Linked DNA regions of Homo sapiens: all the other regions are linked to region 2. Evidence: promoter capture Hi-C in human tissues and cell types (Jung and others, 2019). All regions are on one chromosome and are shown on one strand. Each heading gives the region's core, a stretch centred on a gene start or on the middle of the fragment in contact. The rest is flanking DNA. Distances are from core to core; before and after follow the strand shown. Region 1 overlaps SRP54 (signal recognition particle 54). Region 2 holds the start of NFKBIA (NFKB inhibitor alpha). Region 3 overlaps RALGAPA1 (Ral GTPase activating protein catalytic subunit alpha 1). Region 4 overlaps FAM177A1 (family with sequence similarity 177 member A1).

Region 1 (5,703 bases), core at 2,613-5,112, 410 kb after region 2:
CTACTTGGGGGGCACTGAGGCAGGAGGATTGTTTGAGCCCAGGAGGTTGAGGCTACAGTGAGCCATGATTGCACCACTACACTCCAGCCTGGGTAACAGAGTCAGACTGTCTCTTAAAAAAAAAAAAAAAAAAAAAAAAGGAGGCCAGGCACAGTGACTCATGGTTGTAGTCCCAGCACTTTGGGAGGCTAAGGCAGGCAGATCACTAGGTCAAGAGATAGAGACCATCCTGGCCAACATGGTGAAACCCCATCTCAACTAAAAATACAAAAAAAAATTAGCTGGGCGTGGTGGCACACACCTGTAATCCCAGCTACTTGGGAGGCTGAGGCAGGAGAATTGCTTGAACCTGGCAGGCAGAGGTTGCAGTGAGCAGAGATCATGCCATTGCACTTCAGCCTGAGTGACAGAGGGAGAGTCAAAAAAAAAAAAAGAAAATATTCAAACAATGTGGGGGAAAAATGATTGTAGAACTAGTGGGCATCTAATGCTCTAAAAAATTTTTTTTGTTTGTTTTTTTTTAAAGACAGGGTCTCACCCTCTCCCCCAGTCGGGAGTGCAGTGGCACAATCACGGCTCACTGCACCCCCGAACTCCTGGGCTCAAGCAATACTCCTGCCTCACCCTCCGGAGTAGCTGGAACTACAGATGTGCACCACCATGCCCGGCTAATTTTTGTATTTTTAGCAGAGATGGGGTTACACCATGTTGGCCAGGCTGGTCTCGAACGCCTGACCTCAGGTGGTTACCCATCTCAGCCTCCCACAGTGCTGGGATTACAGATGTGAGCCACTGCACCCGGCCTGCACCAGCTATTTTTATCAATTTTTTTTTTTTTTATAGAGACTGGTTCTCACTATGTTGCCCTGGTTGGTCTCAAACTCCTGGCCTCAAGCAATCCTCCCACCTCCGCCTCCCAAAGCACTGTGATTACAGGCATGAGCCACCATGCCTGGACTAAAATAATTTTTTTAACAGCTCCTTTCTTTTTTTTTCTACAACTGAGCCCATATATATTTTTTAAGCTCTAAGATTTTCACCATAATTTGCATGATCAGCAATAAGGTGAGGCAGGGCAACTGGCTATATTTACTATTTGAAAATAAAACTTTCACTAATTCAAAATTGCTCATAATCTAGGCAAGAATTGGGATACATGGTCTTTGCAAAGGGAATTCCTTACACAACGAACAGTGTAGAAAAGAATACTTGCTATATGTGACTTTGCCATACAAAAGCAGGACCATCACTAGGCAAAACATGATAGTGAACGAGGAAAAACTTAGGCCCTTCCATCAACAAATCTGTAGTGAAATTTCACTCATCGCATCTTGGCTTTGGCATTTTTTGCAGGAATAGTACTAGCTTTCATATCTGCACTCAGAATTATGTATATTCAGTAAAGTCTACAATAAAAATAGGTCCTGGCCAGGTGCAGTGGTTCACACCTATAATCCCAGCACTTTGGGAGGCCGAAGCGGGCGGATCGCCTGAGGTCAGGAGTTCAAGACCAGCCTGACCCACATAGAGAAACCCCGTCTCTACTAAAAATACAGAATTAGCCGGGCATGGTGGTGCACGTCTGTAATCCCAGCTACTCGGGAGGCTGAGGCAGGAGAATTGCTTGAACCCGGGAGGCGGAGGTTGCACTCCAGCCTGGGCAACAAGAGTGAAACTCCTTCTCAAAAAAAAAAAAAAAAAGGTCCCTAAGAAAACTCAATAATCCTTTCATTAATATTTTAATACAGATGAATATTCCATAAAAAACATATTTAAAAATTCTGAAATATTTGTAGTGCTAACGCTTTTTTATCCACTGAGTATAGAATCACAGCATAATCTTCATATACTTTTACCTTCACAAGTTCTTTAAATACAGCATGCTGAATCATTTTTCTTTTGTTAAGACCAGATGCCATCTCTTCAAGATCAATAGCAGACCTTTATGATGGTGGTTGGTGATTGGGGTGGGGAGGAGAAAATCAGTTAAGAAACTCTAAGAAAAAGAAGCTTCTGCTCCAAAGAATGTACAACATTCAGTCATTCATATTAATAGTCTTCCAATTAACATGCATGTAATTACTACAGACTCGTAAGTCTATATCATAAAGAGTTTTCCCATGAAGTATTAGATGCAAGACTTTGGTTTTCAAGGATTACACTTGAAAGTATAAATATAAATTTGTCCTAATATTACCACAAAGAACTAGTTTTATTTACTTTTCTTGCAGCTTATATATTTTATATATCTTTACAACAGAAATCAGGACTACTTTCTCTATTTCTTTTCTTTCTTTTTTCTTTTTTTTTTTTTGAGACAGTCTCACTATCAGCCAGGATGGAGTGCAGTGGCATGATCTCGGCTCACTGCAACCTCTGTCTCCCAGGCTCAAGCAATTCTCCTGCCTCAGCCTCCTGAGTAGCTGGGATTACAGGCGTGTGCCACCATGCCCGGCTAATTTTTTGTATTTTTAGTAGAAACAGGGTTTCACCATGTTGGCCAGGCTGGTCTCGATCTCCTGACCTCGTGATCCACCCACCTCAGCCTCCCAAAGTGCTGGGATTACAGGCGTGAGCTACTGCGCCCGGCTACTTCCTCTATGTCTAAATGCTTAAATGCTGGTAGTCCCACAACTAATCTCAGTCTAACAATACAAGGAGAGATGTCTAAAGCATGGTAAGAGATAAGACTCAAGCAGTTAACTGAGCTACCTGTATTGCTCTGTGTGTCCTACCAACTCAGTGCCTCTCCCAATGAATATGATAACTGAGACCAAACACATTAATTCTTCATTCAAATATGAAACAGAGAAACCAAAAGGAGAACAAAAGAGAATACAGTCCTCCAATAATGAAGGTTGATTAAGATCATCTTAAGCCTAAAAAGAATAAAATGGCAGTACTTTTCTATGAAGAGCCTGAATTGTTAAAAGGCTTTATATATTAAAATACTATACAGTATTTAATCAAATCCATTCAAATAAAAGACTAGTAAAATAGAAAAAAATATGTAATTAAATGAAAATCACATGTAGTTTATTCTTTGAACCATCATTATGGAAACGTACTACACATGCTCTCGCCCAACATATGAGCTCCAACACAGCACTTTTCCAGTGGTGCAGAGCAGAAATGATTCCTGATACAGCAAACACTTCCAGTTAGCACCTCTTTCCAGTAAACTAAACTAAACTGTGCCTGTGTTTTACCTGATTGATTTAACTTACTTAACATTTTCTCTTAGTTGCTTCACTAGTTTAATATTAACATCTGCTTCCAACAAAGCGGTACAGACTTCTTTTAGCATAGCATTCAATACCTGAAAATAAAGAAATAAATGAAATTTAAAGCACCCAATGTTTCATTTCAGTTCCATAAAAACAATTGTTGATCACTTACATAACCACAGCTTAGTAATACCACACTACTGGGTTTTTCAGTTAGTTCTTGGAGAGATAATTTTATTAAATGTTTAGTCATTTTGTCAAAATAAGAGACCCCATTTAGTTTTACACCCAAGTATTAATTGCCACAATTTTATTCCTATATAAAAGTAATTATAGGCCCGGCATGGTGGCTCACGCCTGTAATCCCAACACTTTGGGAGGCCGAGGTGGGCAGACCACTTGAGGTCAGGAGTTCAAGAACAGCCTGGCCAACATGGCGAAACCTCATCTCTACTAAAAATACAAAAATGAGCTGGGCATGGTGGCACGTGCCTGTGATCCCAGCTACTCAGGAGGCTGAGGCAGGAGAATCACTTGAACTCGGGAGGCGGAGGCTGCAGTGAGCCAAGATAGTGCCACTGCACTCCAGCCTGGGTGACAGAGTGAGACTTTGTCTCAAAAAAAAAAAAAAAAAACCACACACACACACACACACACACACACACACACACACACATACACACAAAGTAATAATAAAGACAATATTCAAGCCAAAAAAAGTTACTACAAATAGATGTTGCCTTTGATGTTTTCTACTTTATTGAAGAGCTCCTGTCACTATTATGTAGTGGTATATAGTTACAATATTTGCTTTTCTTTTTTTTTTTTGGAACAGAGTTTCAGAGTTTCGCTCTTGTTGCCCAGGCTGGAGTGCAATGGCGTGATCTCGGCTCACTGCAACCTCCGCCTCCCAGATTCAAGAGATTCTCCTGTCTCAGCCTCCCTAGTAGCTGGGATTACAGGCGCCTGCCACCACGCCCAGCTAATTTTTTGTATTGTTAGTAGAGATGGAGTTTCACTATGTTGGCCAGGCTGGTCTCAAACTCCTGACCTCAGGTGATCCGCCCGCCTCAGCCTCCCAGAGTGCTGGGATTACAGGTGTGAGCTACCACACCCGGCTTAATATTGCTTTTCTTAAAAACTGGACAATTATGGAAGTAAATGTGACAGAAGGAAGTTACCCAGTCTTGTCATTTTTATTAGAGCAGCAGAATACAGGTGGAAAGGAGGCTACTCTCCATTAATAACTTATTATCATCATATGTTTGTTGAATTGCAAGGCACTGTAGTTAAAAGGTCATAAAATTAAAAGTCTTAAGAAAAGATGAGGCTTTAGCCACTCATGTATATAAAGTGCTCACACACTAGAATGTAAACTCTATGAGGTTAGGAATTTTAGTCTATTTTGTTCACCGCTGTATCTCTGGTGCCAGCAAAAATGTCTGCAAAAACATAGGCCCTCAAATATTTCTTGAATGTTCTCTCTCCTTCAACTCACTTCATATGCCCTACAGAGAGAGGCTTACCAGTTTTCTCTATCCCTCATTAAACGGGTCTGCTAAAATTCGAACTGATCTTTCACTAGAGGGCTTTCTCCTTGTTAATTAGCTAGCAGCACAGTATCAAGAACAGAGAAGCTGCCAATTTAAGCAACAGCTGTTACTCTACCTCCCACCAAGAACTCCTCCCCTGGTTTCCTTTCCTTTCTACTATAAACACAAAGAACATAAGGGCTACACAACAGGGAAAACTGTTTGGAAAGTCGTTTTATATATTTGGAATTACAAGACCAAACAATGATTTAAGTTATGATTTATTTTTTAATAAGCAGTATTAGAAAAAGCCCTGTATGAGGAACTAGGAAAAAAAGGTTCTAATCCTGGTTCTTCCAAATAAATAATCACATGAAACTGACTTTGGTTCTGTTAAATAAGAGGCTGAACTAAATGATCTCTAAGATGGTCTCAAAATTATTTAATTCCGTTAGCTTAGTATTGAGATCAAATTCCATGTAAGAATTCTACGTAAGTTTTCTAACCTCCAAGTTAGAAAGTTTATTTGAAACTTAAAACCATTTTCTATGGTAAATGCTATTTTTCCTATTTTATACACTAAGGAATCTAAGGTTTAGTTGCCCCAATTTACATCGTACAGCTGCTAAATAGCTACAGTGGGACTAACCAATGTCTTCTAACACCAAATTCAGTACTTTTCCATTGTTGATACAAAATATAAAGTATACTTGTGAACCACAGTCAACTTTTTCAATTAATAAACCACTAAGATACAATCTGTGGGGGACAAATGGAACAAAGAAATATCTTAAAATAATATAGCCGGGAAGAAAAGTATTTTAATATCATCTAAGGAGTGGCTTACAAAATCTCCAAAAAACTGAAGATTTCAAAGAAAATGAATCAAAACAGACAAGATGGAAATGCTAGCCTTTTATAAAAATGCTAAATAAAAGTCACAA
Region 2 (6,058 bases), core at 3,559-6,058:
ATCCTCCCACCTCAGTCTCCCAAGTAGGTGCGACTACAGGTGTATGCCACCACACCTGGTTAATTTTTTTATTTTTATTTTTATAGCGATGGGGTCTCACTATGTTGCCCAGGCTGGTCTCAAACTCCTAAACGCAAGTGATCCTCCTGCCTCACCCTCTCAAAGTGTTGGGATTGCAGGCATGAGCCACGGAGCTGGGCCAATTTTTTTTATTTCTTTAACAATAGAAGGTCACTACTGAACTGAAGGTGCTACATGCCAAAAGTTGTCTGAGCTAAGTATGAGGGAAGTACACACCCTGACCTAAGCTGTTGGAGATCCCACTCCTTTCAGACTCAAATGGTCTGTTTCACTCATCTGTGAAATCTGCCTGCTCCCTATGCGTAAGTATTTTGAGTTTGAGATCCTTTAAAGCTTTGATCTCCATTAAATTGCAGAATTTGTAGCAAAGGAAACACATTAAGGATTTGACGGTCTTATTTTCACTTCACTACAAATGAAGGTTCTGACAGCTGTTTTTCCTTTTTTTTTTTTTTAATTGAGACAGAGTCTCTCTCTGCTGCCCAGGCAGGAGTGCAATGGCACGATCTCAGCTCACTGCAACCTTCACCTCCCAGGGTCAAGTGATTCTCCTGCCTCAGCCTCCCGAGTAGCTGGGATTACAGGCATGTGCCATCACGCCTGGCTAATTTTTGTATTTTGAGTAGAGATGGGGTTTCACCATGTTGGCCGGGCTGGTCTTGAACTCCTGACCTCAGGTGATCAGCTCGCCTCAGCCTCCCAAAGTGCTGGGATTATAGGTCGGAGCCACCGCCCCCAGCCTTGTTTTTCTATGGGAAAAGATCCATAGCTTGGGGGCTCCCTGTTCTGAAGAGGATGCAGACAGTTGCTACCACGATAGCAAGAAAGAAGACAACCTGAGACTGAAAGCAGAATATTTAGAATTTCACAGTGGGGCTGCCAGTTGGGAGTGCACCTGCCTTGCTCTTCAGGAACTCTGTCATGGCTCGTCTTTCTTCCAGCCTAGCTGCACTGAGCAATAGGTAGCCTGATTCCAGAGTTGAATTTGCTGTAGCCAAAACAATTTAGTTTTAATTGGCCAGGCCAGTTGACACAGGCCACCCTGCCCTGAGGATTTTGGACCACCTGGCTGAACTTGTAGACTCTCTCCATGGCACTTCAGGCAATAGGTTTTGTCCATACTGTGCTTGTTCCATGCAGGAGGAGTGCCTGAAGTGCCTGCAGCCAAACCAGGCCCTGGCGATGCTCCTTTTCCCATGGGGGTGCTCCTGGAGCATCACTGGCCGTCCTGTCATTTCCTACGGCTGCGTCCTGGGCCAAAATACAAAGCAGCTTTGAGGTGTAACTTATTATTTTGCCTTATGCATTAAAAAGGCCAAATAACATTAAAAATCAGTTATCTAAAGTATTTTGTTTTGTTTTGTTTTGTTTTTTGAGACAGAGTCTCACCCTGTTGCCCAGGCTGGCGTGCAATGGCGCGATCTCGGCTCACTGCAACCTCTGCCTCCTCGGTTCAAGTGATTCTCCTGCCTCAGCCTCCTAAGCAGCATCTGCACCACCACACCCGACTAATTTTTTGTATCTTTAGTAGAGACGGGGTTTCATCATGTTGGCCAGGCTGGTCTCGAACTCCTGACCTCATGATCCACCTGCCTCAGCCTCCCAAAGTGCTGAGATTATAGGCGTGAGCCACTGCGCACAGCCTACAGTTTTAACATTTTTTTTAACGGTTATGTTAGCTAGAATGTTTGACAATGAGGAGGAGAAAAATCTGAGTGCTGAAGGGTCCATAAAGGTCTTTCTTTTTCTTTTTTTTCTTTTTGAGACAGGGTCTCAGTCTGTTGCTCAAGCTGGAGTGCAGTTGTGCCATCATGGCTCACTACAAACTCCACCTCCCAGGCTCAAGCAATTCTCCCACTTCTGCCTCTGGAGTAGCTGGGACTACAGGCACCTGCCACCACACTCTGCTAATTATATTTTTTGTAGAGACAAGAGTTTAGCCTTGTTGCCCAGGCTGGTCTCCAACTCCTGGGTGGCAAGCAATCCTCCTGCCTCAGCAACCCAAAGTGCTGAAATTACAGCAGTGAGCCACAACTCCTGGCCCATAAAGGTCTTTCTAAATCAAAACCAGACCCTCTTGTTGTCTTCTGCCCAGTCTGCTCATGGTTCTAATTTCCAAGTGTATATTCTTTTTCACCCACGTTGTAATGTTTGTTGACTTAAACCATATAGCGCTATAGATGATGGGGAGAAAACCTGTTGGATCACATTATTCAAAACTGTTTCCCAGAGTCGCAGGAAAACAATAGGTACCTCCTTGGAAATCTCCACTGTAGGGACAAGTCATCAAGGCTCAGCACCTCCCAATTTTTGCAAAAGGCACTATGACAAATCAAGGAACGCCTGTGCCTTACTCTTACCACTAGGTGTCACACAAAACAATCAGGAATAAACACCAAGATCCTGAAGGCTACCAGAAATATAAAACCATAGAAGGTGGTGCAAAAAAACCTTATTCCTCAGATATTTTTATTTTTTATAACCATTTTTATACCTGAAGCCAAATATCTTCTTCTGATGTATCCTCTATAATTGGGACATTTAGAGTTTGATGTTTCTGTACTTGTTTAAAAGAAGTGACTATCCCCAGATGGGGGTCAGGGGACACCCACCCTTTATTTTCCCTAACAGTTGGAGTAGAAAATACTTTTGAGTACATTCCAAATTATAGTGTAGTCAGTCTGATTTTCACAGCGTGTTTTCAAAAGTGTTAATACTAAGACTGCTTTGGCCAAATGATTAATATACTGCCAAGGGGTTCCTGGGTAAATTTCTATGCATTTCAGTTTCTTTTTAGGGAAGTAGGAACAATATCTATCTTACAAGATTAGTTCTGAGAACAATGTGGTACATAAGGCGCTGGAATTCTTTCAAAAATTTATACCCTGACATTTCCAAGAGCCATGGTCACCCTTACAAAGGAGAGTTAGGCATGCATTTGTAGACAAGCAATATGACTTTTAAGCTAGAAAAGACCTTAAGTAACATTCAATCTAATCTTATTATAAAAGTTAAGTATACCACAAAAAAGTTAACTGACCTCTCCAACTAATGTGCAGTCAAGTAAAGATAGAACCTGGAATTGAGATGTCCCATTGCAGTCACTGTTTCACCTTGCCTCAATCATTGTAGATTTGCATATCATAAACCTGCAGAGACAATGGTGTCTATCCCTGGGAAGTTTTCATTGTAACATGTGATCATTATTACCCTGGAGGGTCTATCTGATTTTAATTTTTTTCCCTTCATACTTGGTCTCTCTCTATCGAGTCAGATTTCTTTCATTCTAATATTAGGGGAGGGGTGGAGATACGAAGAGAGGGGAAGGATTGGTTAGTACAAGGCCAGTCAAGGTAAAGATGATTGCAATAATCACCAGAAATCTCTGCAGAACTACAGAGGCCTCCTGGGACTAATTCTGAAGAGCTCTGACCGAAGTTTGCTTTATTTTGCCTGTACCAATTCTACCAAGTAGATGAATTCAGTCCATGGCTTGCAGGCTTGGAGGTGGAGGTGGAGTGGAGAGCATAAATTATATTTCTGCAGGTGAAACCAGAGCATAGTGAGCCGAAACCCCTTTCTACCCAGGTGGCGTGAATGGGTCCAACTGCTACTGTCCCCCAGGACAAGAGAGCAAGGAGGGGCGGGCAGGATGGGACTACCTTGAGCCTCCCGCAGGATGCCTGGCAACTACTTTCTTAGTGGTCCTTAAGGTCCAATCGCGGTTAAGGCACTAACTAAACTCATTCTTCAGCCTCCTTCTCTAAGTTCTCCTCGAATTTGGGTGCCCAGAAGTAGGCTCACGATCCTTTTTCTGCGGGAGCACAATGTAGGTCAGATAGCATAAACGAATAGCTACTTATGAACACAATAGCTACTCTGCTATTGCAAGGTATCCACAACCACCACTACAAACATTAACACCTTGCTTTACTTGGGAAACAAAAAAAATCATGGTCCTATTCAGCAGTTTCCCCATACAGGGAGCGTTTGCCCCTCCCCCAGTCAACAGGGCTGTTCATCCCTAGGAAGTGATTTGAGAGTTCTCCAAGGATTTAGGCTTTTCACTCCTCCAAAGCTTTCACAACTTCTACCTGGCGGGGGTGCGTGGGGGGGTGGGGGCGAAGCTAAAAGTTCCTTTGCTGCAAAGAGCCTGGTATAGGCAGAAACACCGGCGCGGCCTGCAGCCCCCTAACCACAGTGCGTCCTTCCCCTTAGAAGTCTGGGGAAAGCAAATCCCTACGCCCAGCCATCATTTCCACTCTTGCGTTTTCAAAAGATCAAAAAACGGAAAGGACCGGCAGGTTGGCAAACCCCAAAGAGGGACCGCCCATCAGGTCGGCGTCCTTGGGATCTCAGCAGCCGACGACCCCAATTCAAATCGATCGTGGGAAACCCCAGGGAAAGAAGGCTCACTTGCAGAGGGACAGGATTACAGGGTGCAGGCTGCAGGGAAGTACCGGGGGGAGGGGGCCTGGTCGGAAGGACTTTCCAGCCACTCGGCGCTCATCAAAAAGTTCCCTGTCCGTGACCCTAGTGGCTCATCGCAGGGAGTTTCTCCGATGAACCCCAGCTCAGGGTTTAGGCTTCTTTTTCCCCCTAGCAGAGGACGAAGCCAGTTCTCTTTTTCTGGTCTGACTGGCTTGGAAATTCCCCGAGCCTGACCCCGCCCCAGAGAAATCCCCAGCCAGCGTTTATAGGGCGCCGCGGCGGCGCTGCAGAGCCCACAGCAGTCCGTGCCGCCGTCCCGCCCGCCAGCGCCCCAGCGAGGAAGCAGCGCGCAGCCCGCGGCCCAGCGCACCCGCAGCAGCGCCCGCAGCTCGTCCGCGCCATGTTCCAGGCGGCCGAGCGCCCCCAGGAGTGGGCCATGGAGGGCCCCCGCGACGGGCTGAAGAAGGAGCGGCTACTGGACGACCGCCACGACAGCGGCCTGGACTCCATGAAAGACGAGGAGTACGAGCAGATGGTCAAGGAGCTGCAGGAGATCCGCCTCGAGCCGCAGGAGGTGCCGCGCGGCTCGGAGCCCTGGAAGCAGCAGCTCACCGAGGACGGGGACTCGTAAGTGGCGGAGGCCCGGGGCTGGGGGTCGTCGGGAGGGCGGGACGCGCGCGGCCTGGGGGTGGGAGGCGCCGGGCCTGGAGCCCGAGCCGGGGGACCAGCGATGCAGCCGGGCGGGCGCCGCGGCACCCCGGGGCTCCTGCACCGCCCCGAACGCTGCAGGGCTGCAGGGCCGCGCGGGGCACCGGCCCAACTCGGAGGGGCGGCGGCTGGGCCCTGGTGGATGGCAGCGTCGCCACACGCCCCCTCCCCCCAGACCCGTCCTCTAGGCCGGGGGCGGGGCGGCAGCGGGGACGCGAAGTCCCCGGTTGCATAAGGCGGGGCGGGAGTTTCTGGCCGCTGGCGGGCGCCGAGCAGCCGGGAGGGGAAGTACAGGGCGTTCCGAGCTGGCGGGAGGGCGGGGCGGTCTGGCCGGCGCCCGCCGGGGCCGCGGGGGGAGGGGGGCGGAAAGTCCCTGGGCGCCTGCCAGGAACACTCAGCTCATAATAACCTCGCGGAAAACACCGCGGCCTCGGCCTCCAGAAACCCCGGCCTTGCGCAATCCCCCGCAGCCCGCGCCTCCCTGGGCCCCACGCGGTGCACTCACCACCCCTGGGGTTTTTCCCTCTCTTCCCCACAGGTTCCTGCACTTGGCCATCATCCATGAAGAAAAGGCACTGACCATGGAAGTGATCCGCCAGGTGAAGGGAGACCTGGCCTTCCTCAACTTCCAGAACAACCTGCAGCAGGTGCGCCGCTTGCCTGGCCCGGGTTCTCTCTGACCCTGGGACGTAGCTGATGTAGCAGAGTCACCCCAGATCCTTTCTGAATTCAGGGCCACTGAGCACTATTTACCCTCACCTTTTACTTCACATCAGCCCACATCCTAGAGAGTGAAGGAAATTCCACTGATTTGGTGAGGTCTTTATGACCCACCTGG
Region 3 (6,108 bases), core at 1,530-4,029, 400 kb before region 2:
TGTGTGAATGCAGGCGAGGGATTCACAGGTAATGGCAGTTTGAAATTGAACACTTAATGGAGCTTGACACCTACTTGGGATAAGCTGTAGGTTAGGTAATGACACAGCTATAAAGTTGAGTTCCAATAAAGTATCGAGATTTCCTAAATTAAAGGCCATACTTTATTTATAGACTGGTTAAGGAATTATTTATATATACTTTTTTGGCATAGAGTTTTTTTCCATCTGGCAGACATGGAAAATTAAAAGGTAAATTAAGAGAGAGGTCACACATATAAGGCATTTTGTAGGACTTAGCTTGCTTGGTTTGAAAACAAAACAAAACAAAAACAAGTCTTTTATTGTTGTCGTTATTTTGTTTGAAATACAGTTAATGTAATTTCTAAGAAAATGAATGAGAGAAAGTAGAATGACAAAAACTAGTGTCTTTTAGAGGTCTGCCAATCAGGTATTTGATTTTGCAGATGGAAAATCCTTTCTGGAAGTAGGTGCGGGCTTTAAATAAGGTAAACACAATGAGGAAACTAGTTTGCAGAGTAATTGGGCATTGCCAGTTACACAGGCTTTTGATTTTTGTTTGGTCCCATAGTTCATAGTTCATATGGGACCAAACAGAACTGCCATTCACTCAGGGTACTTATGGGAGGATTCAGTGCATCTATATGTATGAGAACATAATCATAATTTAAACATCCGCTGTAAACTTTTTTCCTGGCATGTGTTCCCACTGTAGGACAATCCAAGTTAAATTTATAGAACTTGACTCTGAAGATTTAGATTTAAATCTGGTATGTTTATTGATACTGTTGCATAATTGATTTGTAAAAACTAGAAGTCAGGGTTTTCTTAAAACAGAAAAAAAAGCCTTGTCTGATTTCTAAAGCTGTTATCCTTTCTACCTACCCCCTCCCCCCCATTTTACAACTAATGGTAATGATATTATAAATTAGCACATGTAAATTGGCTAACATAATGCTTGGCATATAGTGGGTATTGACTTAGTGTTAGTTTTGTTCTACTTTACAGCTAACAGTTCAGTCCTCTTGATATAAAAATAAAAAGTGCTTATTTAGCTAAAAATATTTATTGTTAAATAATTCTGACAGCTTTATTGAGGTATAATTGGCACACAATAAACTGCACATATTTAAAGTACATAATTGAATAATTTTTACATATGTATATCTCCTGAAACCATCATAACAAATATTTAAAATATCCAATCAAGATAACAAATATAGACAGTGACAATCAGGATAATATATGTATAATCAGCTGGGTGCGGTAGCTCATGCCTGTAATCCCAGGACTTGGGGAGGCCGAGGTGGGCGGATCACGAGGTCAGGAATTCAAGACCAGCCTGGCCAACAGAGTGAAACCGGGTCTCTACTCTACTGAAAATACAAAAATTAGCCAGGCATGGTGGCGTGCACCTGTAGTCCCAGCTACTCAGGAGGCTGAGGCAGGAGAATCGCGTGAACCTGGGAGGCAGAGGTTGTGGTGAGTCGAGATCACGCTACTGCACTCCAGCCTGGGCAACAGAGCGAGACTCCGTTTCAGGAAAAAAAAAAAAAAAAGAAAAAGAAAAAATATATATATGTATGTATGTATAACCTCCCAAAGTTTTCTCATGCCCCTTTGTAATCTCTTTCTCCCACCTCAGTTGTACCCTCCCACCTTTCCTGAGCAACCACTAATCTGCTGTCACCCTAGATTAGTTTGCATTATCTAGAGTTTTATATAAATGGGATTATACAGCATAAAAATGGAATTATGCAGTACGGTCATTTTATGTTTGATTTCTTTTTTTTTTTTTTTTGACACGGAGTCTCACTCTGTCACCCAGGCTGGAATGCAGTGGCGCGATCTCGGCTCACTGCAACCTCCGCCTCCCGGGTTCAAGCAATCCCCCTGCCTCAGCCTCTTGAGTAGCTGGGATTACAGGCGCACGCCACCAAGCCTGGCTAATTTTTTCTTTTTTTTTTTTCTTTTGTATTTTAGTAGAGACAGGGTTTCACTGTGTTGCCCAGGCTGGTTTCGAACTCCTGAGCTCAGGCAGTCCCCCCGCCTCAGCCTCCTAAAGTGCTGGGATTACAGGCATGAGCCACGGCGCCCCGCCTTTTTTTTTTGTATTCCTAATAGAGATGGGGTTTCACCATGTTGGTCAGGCTGGTCTTGAACTCGCGACCTCGTGATCCGCCTGCCTCAGCCTCCCAAAGTGCTGGGATTACAGGCGTGAGCCACCACACCTGGCCTTGGTTTCTTTTTCTCAGCCTCATTATTTTGAAATTAATCTGTATCCTGGTATGTTAATAGTTCATTGCTTTTTTTTCTTGTGACAGGGTCTTCTGTCACTCTGGCTGGAGTACCGTGTTGCAAACGTGGCTCATTGCAGCCTTGACCTTTCAGGGTCCAGCGATCCTCCTTCCTCTACCTCCCTAGTAGCTGGGACATGCACCACCGTGTATGGCCAATTAAAAAAAATTTTTTTTTGTAGAGATGGGGTCTCATGTTGCCCAGGCTGGTTGCAAGCTCCTGGACTCAAGCAATCCTCCCATCTCAGCCTCCCAAAGTATTCTGGGATTACAGGTGTGAGCCACTGTACCTAACTGTTAATCTCTTTTTATTTCTGAATAGTTACTCACTATTTATTTATTTATTTATTTATTTATTTATTTATTTATTTATTTTTGAGATGGAGTCTCACTCTGTCACCCAGGCTGGAGTGCCATGGCACGATCTCGGCTCACTGCAATCTCTGCCTCCCGGGTTCAAGCAAGTCTCCTGCCTCAGCCTCCTAAGTAGCTGGGATTACAAGTGTGCACCATCAGGCCCAGCTAATTTTTGTATTTTTAGTAGAGACAGGGTTTCACCATGTTGGCCAGGCTGGTCTTGAACTCCTGACCTCGTGATCCTCAAGCCTCAGCCTTCCAAAGTGCTGGGATTACAGGTGTGAGCCACCGCGCCCAGCCGTTATTCACAATTTTTTGTTTGTTTTTGAGATGGAGTCTCGCTCTGTCGCCCAGGCTAGAGTGCAGTGGCTTGATCTTGGCTCACTGCAACGTCCACCTCCCCAGTTCAAGTGATTCTCCTGCCTCAGCCTCCCAAGTAGCTGGGATTACAGGTGGGTGTCACCATGCCTGGCTAATTTTTGTACTTAAATAGAGATGGGGTTTCGCCATGTTGGCCAGGCTGGTCTTGAACTCCTGACCTCAGGTGATCCACCCACCTCGGCCTCCCAAGACCATTGTATAACTTCTTTGATGAGTTTGTGTTTAAATCTTTTACATGTCTTTTAATTTTTTTGCTTTCTTAATTCAGTTTTGAAAGTTCTTTAGGCCAGGTGCAGTGGCTCATGCCTGTAATCTCAGCACTTTGGAAGGCTGAGGCAGGTGGCTCACTTGAGGTCAGGAGTTCGAGACCAGCCTGGCCAAGATGGTGAAACCCCATCTCTACTAAAAATAACCAGGTGTGATAGCACATGACTGTAATCCCAGCTATTCAGGAGGCTGAGATGGGAGAATTGCTTGAACCTGGGAGGTGGAGGTTTGCAGTGAGCCAAGATTGTGCAACTGCACCCTAGCCTGGGTAACAGAGTGAGACTGTCTCAAAAAAAAAAAAAAAAGTTCTTTATATATTCTAGATACAGATACTGTATGAGACACATGATTTGCAAAGATTTTTTTTTCCCCAGTCTTTGGGCTGTCTCTTCGTTCTCTTAAAGTTTTCTTTGAAGAAGAAGTTGTTTCTTTGAAGAAGCAGAAATGGTTAATTTTTATTGTCTATATATCAATTTTTAATTTATTTTTTTTATTTTGTATCTAAAATCTTTGCCTAACCCATGATCACAAAGATTTTCTTCTATGCTTTTTTCTAGAAGTTTTACAGTTTTAGGATCTATTTTCCTCTATGATTCATCTGAGTTTTAACTATGGTATGAGGTGGCTAGAAGTTTACGTTTTTGCATGTGAATATCCAGTTGTTCCAGCTCTGTTTGTTGAAAAAGGCTATCTTTACTGAATTGCCTTTGTACTTTTGCCAAAATTTAGTTTTCCAGAAATATGTGTGGGCCTATTTCTGGACTCTTATTTTGTTCCAGTGATCTGTTTATCTTTGTTGGTGCCAGTACCGCAGTGTTTGATTACTGTAACTTTATAATAAATCTTGAAATCAAGTAGTGTTGTCCCTCCTACTTTGTTCTTCCTTTTCAAAGTTTCTTTTTTTCCCAAATGCCAGGTCCTTTACATTTCCATATGAGTCTAAAGATTAGTTGAGCTTGGTGTGGTGGCTCACACCTGTAATCCCAGCACTTTGGGAGGCTCAGGTGGGCAGATTGCTTGAGCCCAGGAGTTTGAGACCAGCTTGGACAACATGCTGAAACCCCATCTCTCCAAAAAAGAGAAAAAAAAGAAATAGCTGGGCATGGTAGTGTGTGCCTGGGATCCCAGTCACCTGGGAGGCTGAGGTGAGAGGATCACCTGGGCCTGGGAGGTCGAGGTTGCAATGAGCCATGATTGCACCACTGCACTCCAGCCTGGGTGACACAGTGACACTGTATTTTTTTTTTTAAAGGTCAGTTTCTTAAAAAAAAAAAAAACCCACCACCACCAAAAAACCTATTGGGATTTTGGTTGGGATTATGTTGAATCTATAGATCAATTTGGGAAAATTGACGATATTGAATACACTGATTCATGAACAAGGCGTTTCTCCACCTACTTAGGACTTCTTTAATTTCTCTCAGCAGTGTTTTGTAGTTCAGTGTGCAGGTCTTATACATCTTTTGTCAGACTTATACCTAAATACTTTCTACTTTGATCTTTTGTAAATGTTACCTTTATATCTATTTCTGATTGGATCTCATATCAGGAAATACCACTGATTTATGTATAGTGAGCTTATGTCCTACAAACCTGCTGAACTGACTTAGTTCTGTTATTTATTTATTTTTTTGAGACAGAGTCTCACTCTGTTGCCCAGGCTGGAGTGCAGTGGCATGATCTCAGCTCACTGCAACCTCCGCCTCCCAGGTTCAAGCAATTCTCCTGCCTCAGCCTACTGAGTGGCTGGGATTACAGGCACACACCACTGAGCCTGGCTGATTTTTGTGTTTGTAGTAGAGACGGGGTTTCACCATGTTGATAAGGCTGGTCTCGAACTCCTGACCTCGTGAGCCACCTGCCTTGGCCTCCCAAAGTCCTGGGATTACAGGTGTGAGCCACAGCACCCAGCCAGTTCTGTTAGTTTTTTGTAGATTCTTTTGGATATTTTTCATAGAGAATCAGTCTGCAAATACAGTTTTACTTCTTCCTTTCTAATCTGGATGCCCTTTATTTCTTTTTCTTGCCTTACTGAAGTGACTAGAACCTCCAATGTGACATAGATTAGAAGTAATGAGAGTGGGCAGTCTTGTCTTGTTCTTGATCTTAGGGGTAAAGCAATCGATTGATTTTTTTCACTGTATAATATGATCCTAACTGTAGGTTTTTTGTAGATGCCCTTTATCAGATTTAGAGAGTTTCATTCTATTCCTGGTTGGCTGAGGGTTTCTATCAGGAATGGATGTTGGATTTATTGAATGCTTTTTCTGTTTCTGTTGGTATAAACAGAAGATTTCATCTAAGTTGTCAAATTTATAGGTATAAATTGTTGATTATACTCTCTTATTATCCTTTTAATATTATAGGATTCATGTCCAGGCATGGTGGCTCATGCTTATAATCCCAGCACTTTGGGAGGCCAAGGCGGGTGGATCACTAGAGGTCAGGAGTTCGAGACCAGCCTGACCAACATACTGAAACCCTGTGTGAACTAAAAATACAAAAGTAGCTGGACCTTGTGGCGCATGCTTGTAGTCCCAGCTACTAGGGAGGCTGAGGCAGGAGAATCACCTGAACCCAGGAGGCAGAGGTTGCAGTGAGCCAAGATTATGCCACTGTACTCCAGCCAGGGCAACAGAGCGAGACTCTATCTCAAATGTGTGTGTGTGTGTGTGTGTGTGTGTGTGTGTGTGTGTCTGTGTATATATATATAGCAGGACCCATGGTAATGTTATCCTTCTCGTTTCTTGTCTGATAATTTGTCTTTCTTTTCCTGATCAGCCTGACT
Region 4 (5,830 bases), core at 3,067-5,566, 340 kb after region 2:
TACAAGGGAGGCTGAGATAGGAGAATCGCTTTAACCCAGGAGGCAGAGGTTGCGGTGAGCTGAGATTGTGCCATTGCGCTCCAGCTTGGGCAAGAGCAAAACTCCGTCTCAAAAAAAAAAGATTCAAGATTCAAAAGCCTCTATTATGTATACATTCCATTAACTATAACAATGGCATTTAAATATATACATCAAGTTGGCATCAAGATGCTCTTTTATGGCCAGGCGCGGTGGCTCACGCCTGTAATCCCAGCACTTTGGGAGGCTGAGGCGGGCAGATCACTTGAGGTCAGGAGTTTGAGACCAGCCTAGCCATCATGGTGAAACCTCGTCTCTACTAAAAATACAAAAATTAGCCAGGAGTGGTAGCGCACACCTGTAATCCCAGCTACAAGGGAGACTGAGGCAGGAGAATTGCTTGATCCCAAGGGCAGAGGTTGCAGTGAGCCGAGATTACGCCACTGCACTCCAGCCTGGGCAACAGAGTGACACTCTGTCTCAAAAAAAAAAAAAAAAAGATGCTCTTTTACTACTTTAAACAACACAAGAAAAATGGATTTGAGGCCAGGAACTCATGCTTGTAATCCCAGCACTTTGGGAGGCCAAAATAGGAGGATCATTTGAGCCGAGGAGTCCAAGACCAGCCTGGGCAACATAATGAGACCTTATCTCTACAAAAAATTTTAAAAATTAGACAGGTGTGGTGGCCTATATCTGTAGTCCCAGCTACTTAGGAGGCTGAGGTGGAAAGATCGTTTGAGCCCAGGAGGTCAAGGCTACAGTGAGCCATCATCATGCCACTTTACTACAGCCTGGGCAACAGAGGAAGACCTTGTCTCAAAAAGAAAAAAATTTAAAAAAAAGGATTAGAATTCCTACGATTTTCATATTATCAGACAATGGCTTTAATACTTTGTTTCTAGGCAGGGTGCAGTGGCTCACACCTGTAATCTCAGCACTTTGGGAGGCCAAGGTGGGTGGATTACGAGGTCAGGAGTCTGGCCAACTCCTGTTGACCAGTCTGGCCAAGATGGTGAAATCCTGTCTCTACTAAAAACACAAAAATTAGCTGGGCATGGTGGCAGGTACCTGTAATCCCAGCTACTCGGGAAGCTGAGACAGGAGAATCATTTGACCCTGGGAGGTGGAGGTTGCAGTGAGCCGAGGTCGTACCACTGCACTCCAGCCTGAGCGACAGGGTGACTGTCTCAAAAAAAAAAAAAAAAATTGCTTCTTATACCTTTTAAAACAAAGTCTACATTAATGAAAAACAAAATTAACAGCCATCTATTGCTGGTGGAAGTTGAAGGAAATGCATAGCAGGTAACACATTTTTATTTAAAGAATATTCTGCCTGAGCACCATTCTGTCTATATAAAAGGATTCAAAAAGTAATCAAATACTCAGTTGGCAACTTCCCTAAATGGCATTTAAGATGTGCTTATCTTATCAGAGAAAAATTGAAAAAAACTATTCAGGTGGAAGTCTTTGGTTAGTTCTAAGCTTTAAAAATTTTTTCTGAACAGAAATGAGAATGTTGTCTAGCAAAAAAAAAAAAAAAAAAAAGATTCAATGGAAAAATCTCCTGAGTGGCTGAATACATTATGGTTTAATATATTAAACCATAATGTATTCTATTAATATTTAAAGTTTCCCTCCAAGGCAGAGCTTGCAGTGAGCCAAGATCGCACCACCGCACTCCAGCCTGGGCGAGAGAGAGAGAGACTCCGTCTCAAAAAAAAAAAAGTTTCCCTCCAAAAATATTATAGTTATTTAAGGGAAATAAAACCACCAGCAAGTTTACTTTATGAATGTAATTCTACATTAAGCTACAGCATTAAAAAACAACAAAAAAAAATATGGTGACAGACTAATATTAACATGAGCGTACATAAAAAATTAACCAGATGAAGTCATTTGCAATTCAGGCAGCTATAAAAAATATCAGAGAAATAGGCCCGGCTCGGTGGCTCACGCCTGTAATCTGGGATTACACTTTGGGATTGCACTTTGGGAGGCTGAAGCGGGCGGATCACGAGGTCAGCAGATCGAGACCATCCTGGCTAACACGGTGAAACCCTGTCTCTACTAAAAATACAAAAAAATTAGCTGGTCATGGTGGCGGGTGCCTGCATTCCCAGCTACTCGGGAGGCTGAGGCAAGGAGAATGGTGTGAACCTGGGAGGCGGAGCTTGCAGTGAGTCAAGATGGCGCCACTGCACTCCAGCCTGGACAACAGAGCAAGATTCCATCTCAAAAAAAAAATCAGAGAAATAAATTGTATCTCTTTTTGCTAAAGACTTAAGTAATTATTATTCTATCTCGGTTAATTTAGTCAACATGTATAGTCACATTTCCTAAGTATAAATTCTTCATTAACTTTATTAGGTTTTTCTGTGAAAATTTTACTTAGAATTCAAGTAAAATGTCCTCTCTCAGCTTCAGGCTGAGTTATAACATAAAGCTACCAACTGACAGTACAGTAACAGCTCATATTGCCTAAAAAAATCATTGTACTTTTTTGTTTGTTTGTTTTCGAGACAAAGTCATGTTCTGTTGCCCAGGCTGGAGTGCAGTCGCTCGATCTCGGCTCACTGCAACCTCCATCTCCCAGGTTCAAGGGATTCTCCTGCCTCAGCCTCCCGAGTAGCTGGTATTACAGGTGCATGCTACCACGCCCAGCTAATTTTTGTATTTTTAGTAGAGACGAGGTTTCCCCATGATGGCCAGGCTGGTCTCAAACTCCTGACCTCAGTGATCTGCCCACCTTGGCCTCCCAAAGTGCTGGGATTACAGGTGTGAGCCACTGCACCTGGCCCATTGCACTCTTAAAGGCATGAAGTACCAAAAGGGATTTTTTTTTTTTTTTTTTTTTTGAGACAGAGTCTCGCTCTGTGGTTAAGGCTGGAGCACAGTAGGGTGGTCTCTGCTCACTGCAATCTCTGCCTCCTGGATTCAAGCGATTCTCCTGCCTCAGCCTCCCGAGTAGCTGGGATTACAGGCTTGTGCCACCAAGCCCAGCTAATTTTTGTATTTTTAGTAGAGATGGAGTTTCAGGGTTTTACCATGTTGGCCAGGCTGGTCTCAAACTCCTGGCCTCAAGTGATCTGCCCACCTCAGCCTCCCAAAGTGCTGGGATTACAGGCAAGAGCCATGTAATGTGGCCCAAAAGAAAAAATATAATTTTAAAGCTTTAAACTTGATATTTCAAAATTGGAATCATAAAGCAAATCAATTTTATAAACTCTAAAATGATACTAAATCTGGGTGCAGGACTAGATTTGTTATTTCAAAAAGAAAATGACACTAAATAGGAACTATGGAGAAAATTTATTTATTTATTTTGAGATGGCGTTTCACTCTTGTTGCCCAGGCTGGAGTGCAATGGCGGGATCTTGACTCACTGCAACCTCCACCTCCCAGGTTCAAGCGATTCTCCTGCCTCAGCCTCCCAAGCGGCTGGGATTACAGGCACCCGCCCCCATGCCTGGCTAATTTTTTGTATTTTTTTTTTAGTAGAGACGGGGTTTCACCATGTTGGCCAGGCAGGTCTCAAACTCCTGACCTCAGGGATCCACCCACCTTGGCTTCCCAAAGTGCTGGGATTACAGGCAAGAGCCACCATGCCTGGCCCCAAAGGGAAAATATAATTTTAAAGCTTTAAAATTGATATTTAAAAATTGGAGTCATAAATCAATTTTATAAACTCTAAAATGATACTAAAATCTGAATATAGAACTAGATCTTTTTTTTTTTTTTTTTTTGAGATGGAGTCTCACTCTGTTGCCAGGCTGGAGTGCAGTGGCGCGATCTTGGCTCACTGCAATCTCCGACTCCCGGGTTCAAGCCATTCTCCTGCCATTCATCCGCCTACCTCAGCCTCCCAAAGTGCTGGGATTACAGGCGTGGTCCACCGCACCCGACCTTTTTTTTTTTTTAAATGATACTAAATAGGAACTATAGAGAAAATTTAAAAAATAAGTTATGGGGTTTCAATCTCAAATCGAGTTCTAAAATTACCTTAAGTAAAAAAAAAAAAAAAACCGCAAATAAAATTTCTTGTGCTACTTGCTATATTTGCTTTATTAATTAATACTACCATATATTTTTCTTTTCTTTTTTTTTTTTTTGAGACAGGGTCTCACTTTGTTGCCCGGGCTGGAGTACAGTGGCATGATCATGGCTCACTGCAGCCTTGAATTCCTGGGCTCAAGCAATCCTCTTGCCTCAGCCCTCCAAAGCAAAGATTATAGGCATGAGGCACTGTGCTCAGCCAAGTCACTTTTCAGTGAGTTTTCATAGATATTATCTCATTTAATCTTTAAAAACAACTACAGGTAGGTGAGGCAAGTTATCTCTCTTCTTTGTAATCATGGAACTTTAACTACAATGAAAGTTAAGTCTTTGTCAAAGCAAGGTGACTACTACAGGACAGAGCCAGAACTAAAAACCAAGTTTCTGACATCTCATGGTACCTCTCAGTGAAGAAAATATAAAAAGATTTCTTATCACCCAGGGATCTGTTGGATTGGGCTTCACAACTCAGGGAAATTCCAACATGAATATGCTATATACATGGTCATTAAAGACCTTAATAGTGGATATAGACCTCTATCATAACAGCATGAGGAACTCTGGGCCCACTTCCCAGTAAAACTGATGAAATTTATTAAAGAATAAACATTTAAAGCACCTGGAAATGGTCTTAATGGCATATAAATGAATAAACATCTATTCAAGAAAATCTATGAAAATTTGGTAACAAAAGCAAACGTCTGTGGTAACTGAACTAAGACCACTCCCTCTCAGCACCCTCCCAGCAAAGGAAGGCAGAAACTGCACTTCAGACTGGTACAGCCAAGAATACAGGGTTCCCCCTCCCCTCAGCTTCCAGTTGGGTTTTCTTCTCAGGAGGAACAGAATATTAACCAGCACTTCTCATCTATTACTGAGGCCAATTTCCAGGTAAGTGTGGTTGACAGGGGGTGACTCTCTTCTTCCACCAGCCTCTGCTCACAGAATGGAGGCTCTACCTTGAGCATGGCACCACTGAGAACACCAGGGCCCTGATCGCCTTTACCCAGTTCATAAGGCAGCAGAGGCAAGTTCTACGCCAGCAGAGGCAAGTCAAAAATACTTACAGCTTTTTTTTTTAATATTATTATACTTTAAGTTTTAGGGTACATGTGCACAATGTGCCAGTTAGTTACATATGTATACATGTGCCATGCTGGTGTGCTGCACCCATTAACTTGTCATTTAGCATTAGGTATATCTCCTAATGCTGTCCCTCCCCCCTCCCCCCACCCCACAACAGTCCCCAGAGTGTGATGTTCCCCTTCCTGTGTCCATGTGTTCTCATTGTTCAATTCCCATCTATGAGTGAGATAAAAAAAAAAAAAAAGAAATGAGAAAAAAACAAATAGACATTTGTAAAACAAAGACTAAAAAAAAAAAAAAATACTTAAAGCTACTGACCCCACCTCCCATAAATGCTCAGCTCCTAAAGTGAAGGTGTTATTCAGACAGAAATGAGCCATTGTCCCCACCCCCAGCTCCAAAACCTTGGCTCAGAGATTGCCCTGAGTGAGAGGCAGAAGGGCGGGGCTGGGGTAGGGGAGCCAGCCAGGACAGGAAACAAAGCAGACAACTCCTAATCTCTTCCCAAAGGAACTGACTTCATTTGCAACACACCTAGAAAAGTCCAAGGCTAAGGGTGTTCTCAAAAACACTGGAGATTGTAGCAAAATGTACAGTGGTCCCCCTTTATCTGCAGGGGCTGTGTTCCAAGACCTCCCATGGGTGACTGAAACTGCGGATAATACTGAAC

The links. Contacts are between HindIII fragments. The study calls those that stand out against the background at their distance.
Region 1: a contact is called between a fragment that was not itself captured here and the fragment with the promoter of NFKBIA in region 2, in 1 of the 25 tissues and cell types used here (lymphoblastoid cells).
Region 3: a fragment that was not itself captured here is called in contact with the fragment with the promoter of NFKBIA in region 2 in 1 of the 25 tissues and cell types used here (hippocampus).
Region 4: a fragment that was not itself captured here is called in contact with the fragment with the promoter of NFKBIA in region 2 in 3 of the 25 tissues and cell types used here (dorsolateral prefrontal cortex, liver and lymphoblastoid cells).

Annotation. Positions count from the first base shown.
Region 1 is chr14:34,997,174-35,002,876 of GRCh38, reverse strand. It overlaps SRP54 (signal recognition particle 54), which reads right to left. Exons shown (of 16, transcript NM_003136.4): 3 at 3,228-3,319; 4 at 1,857-1,941. Among named protein-coding and RNA genes, the nearest start is that of SRP54, 17 kb to the right of the region's middle. The HindIII fragment of the contact is 6,797 bases long and covers 464-5,703 here.
Region 2 is chr14:35,403,499-35,409,556 of GRCh38, reverse strand. It overlaps NFKBIA (NFKB inhibitor alpha), which reads left to right and starts at 4,808. Exons shown (of 6, transcript NM_020529.3): 1 at 4,808-5,139; 2 at 5,759-5,867. The coding sequence starts at 4,913. RefSeq lists enhancers at 2,310-2,369, 4,347-4,746, 3,951-4,822, 5,927-5,976, 6,007-6,058 and silencers at 4,817-4,986, 5,137-5,726. The HindIII fragment of the contact is 5,540 bases long and covers 2,288-6,058 here.
Region 3 is chr14:35,801,153-35,807,260 of GRCh38, reverse strand. All of the region lies in intron 1 of RALGAPA1 (Ral GTPase activating protein catalytic subunit alpha 1), which reads left to right. Among named protein-coding and RNA genes, the nearest start is that of RALGAPA1, 5.1 kb to the left of the region's middle. The HindIII fragment of the contact is 7,645 bases long and covers 1-6,108 here.
Region 4 is chr14:35,061,094-35,066,923 of GRCh38, reverse strand. The region is part of intron 2 of FAM177A1 (family with sequence similarity 177 member A1); the gene reads right to left. Among named protein-coding and RNA genes, the nearest start is that of FAM177A1, 18 kb to the right of the region's middle. The HindIII fragment of the contact is 3,938 bases long and covers 2,348-5,830 here.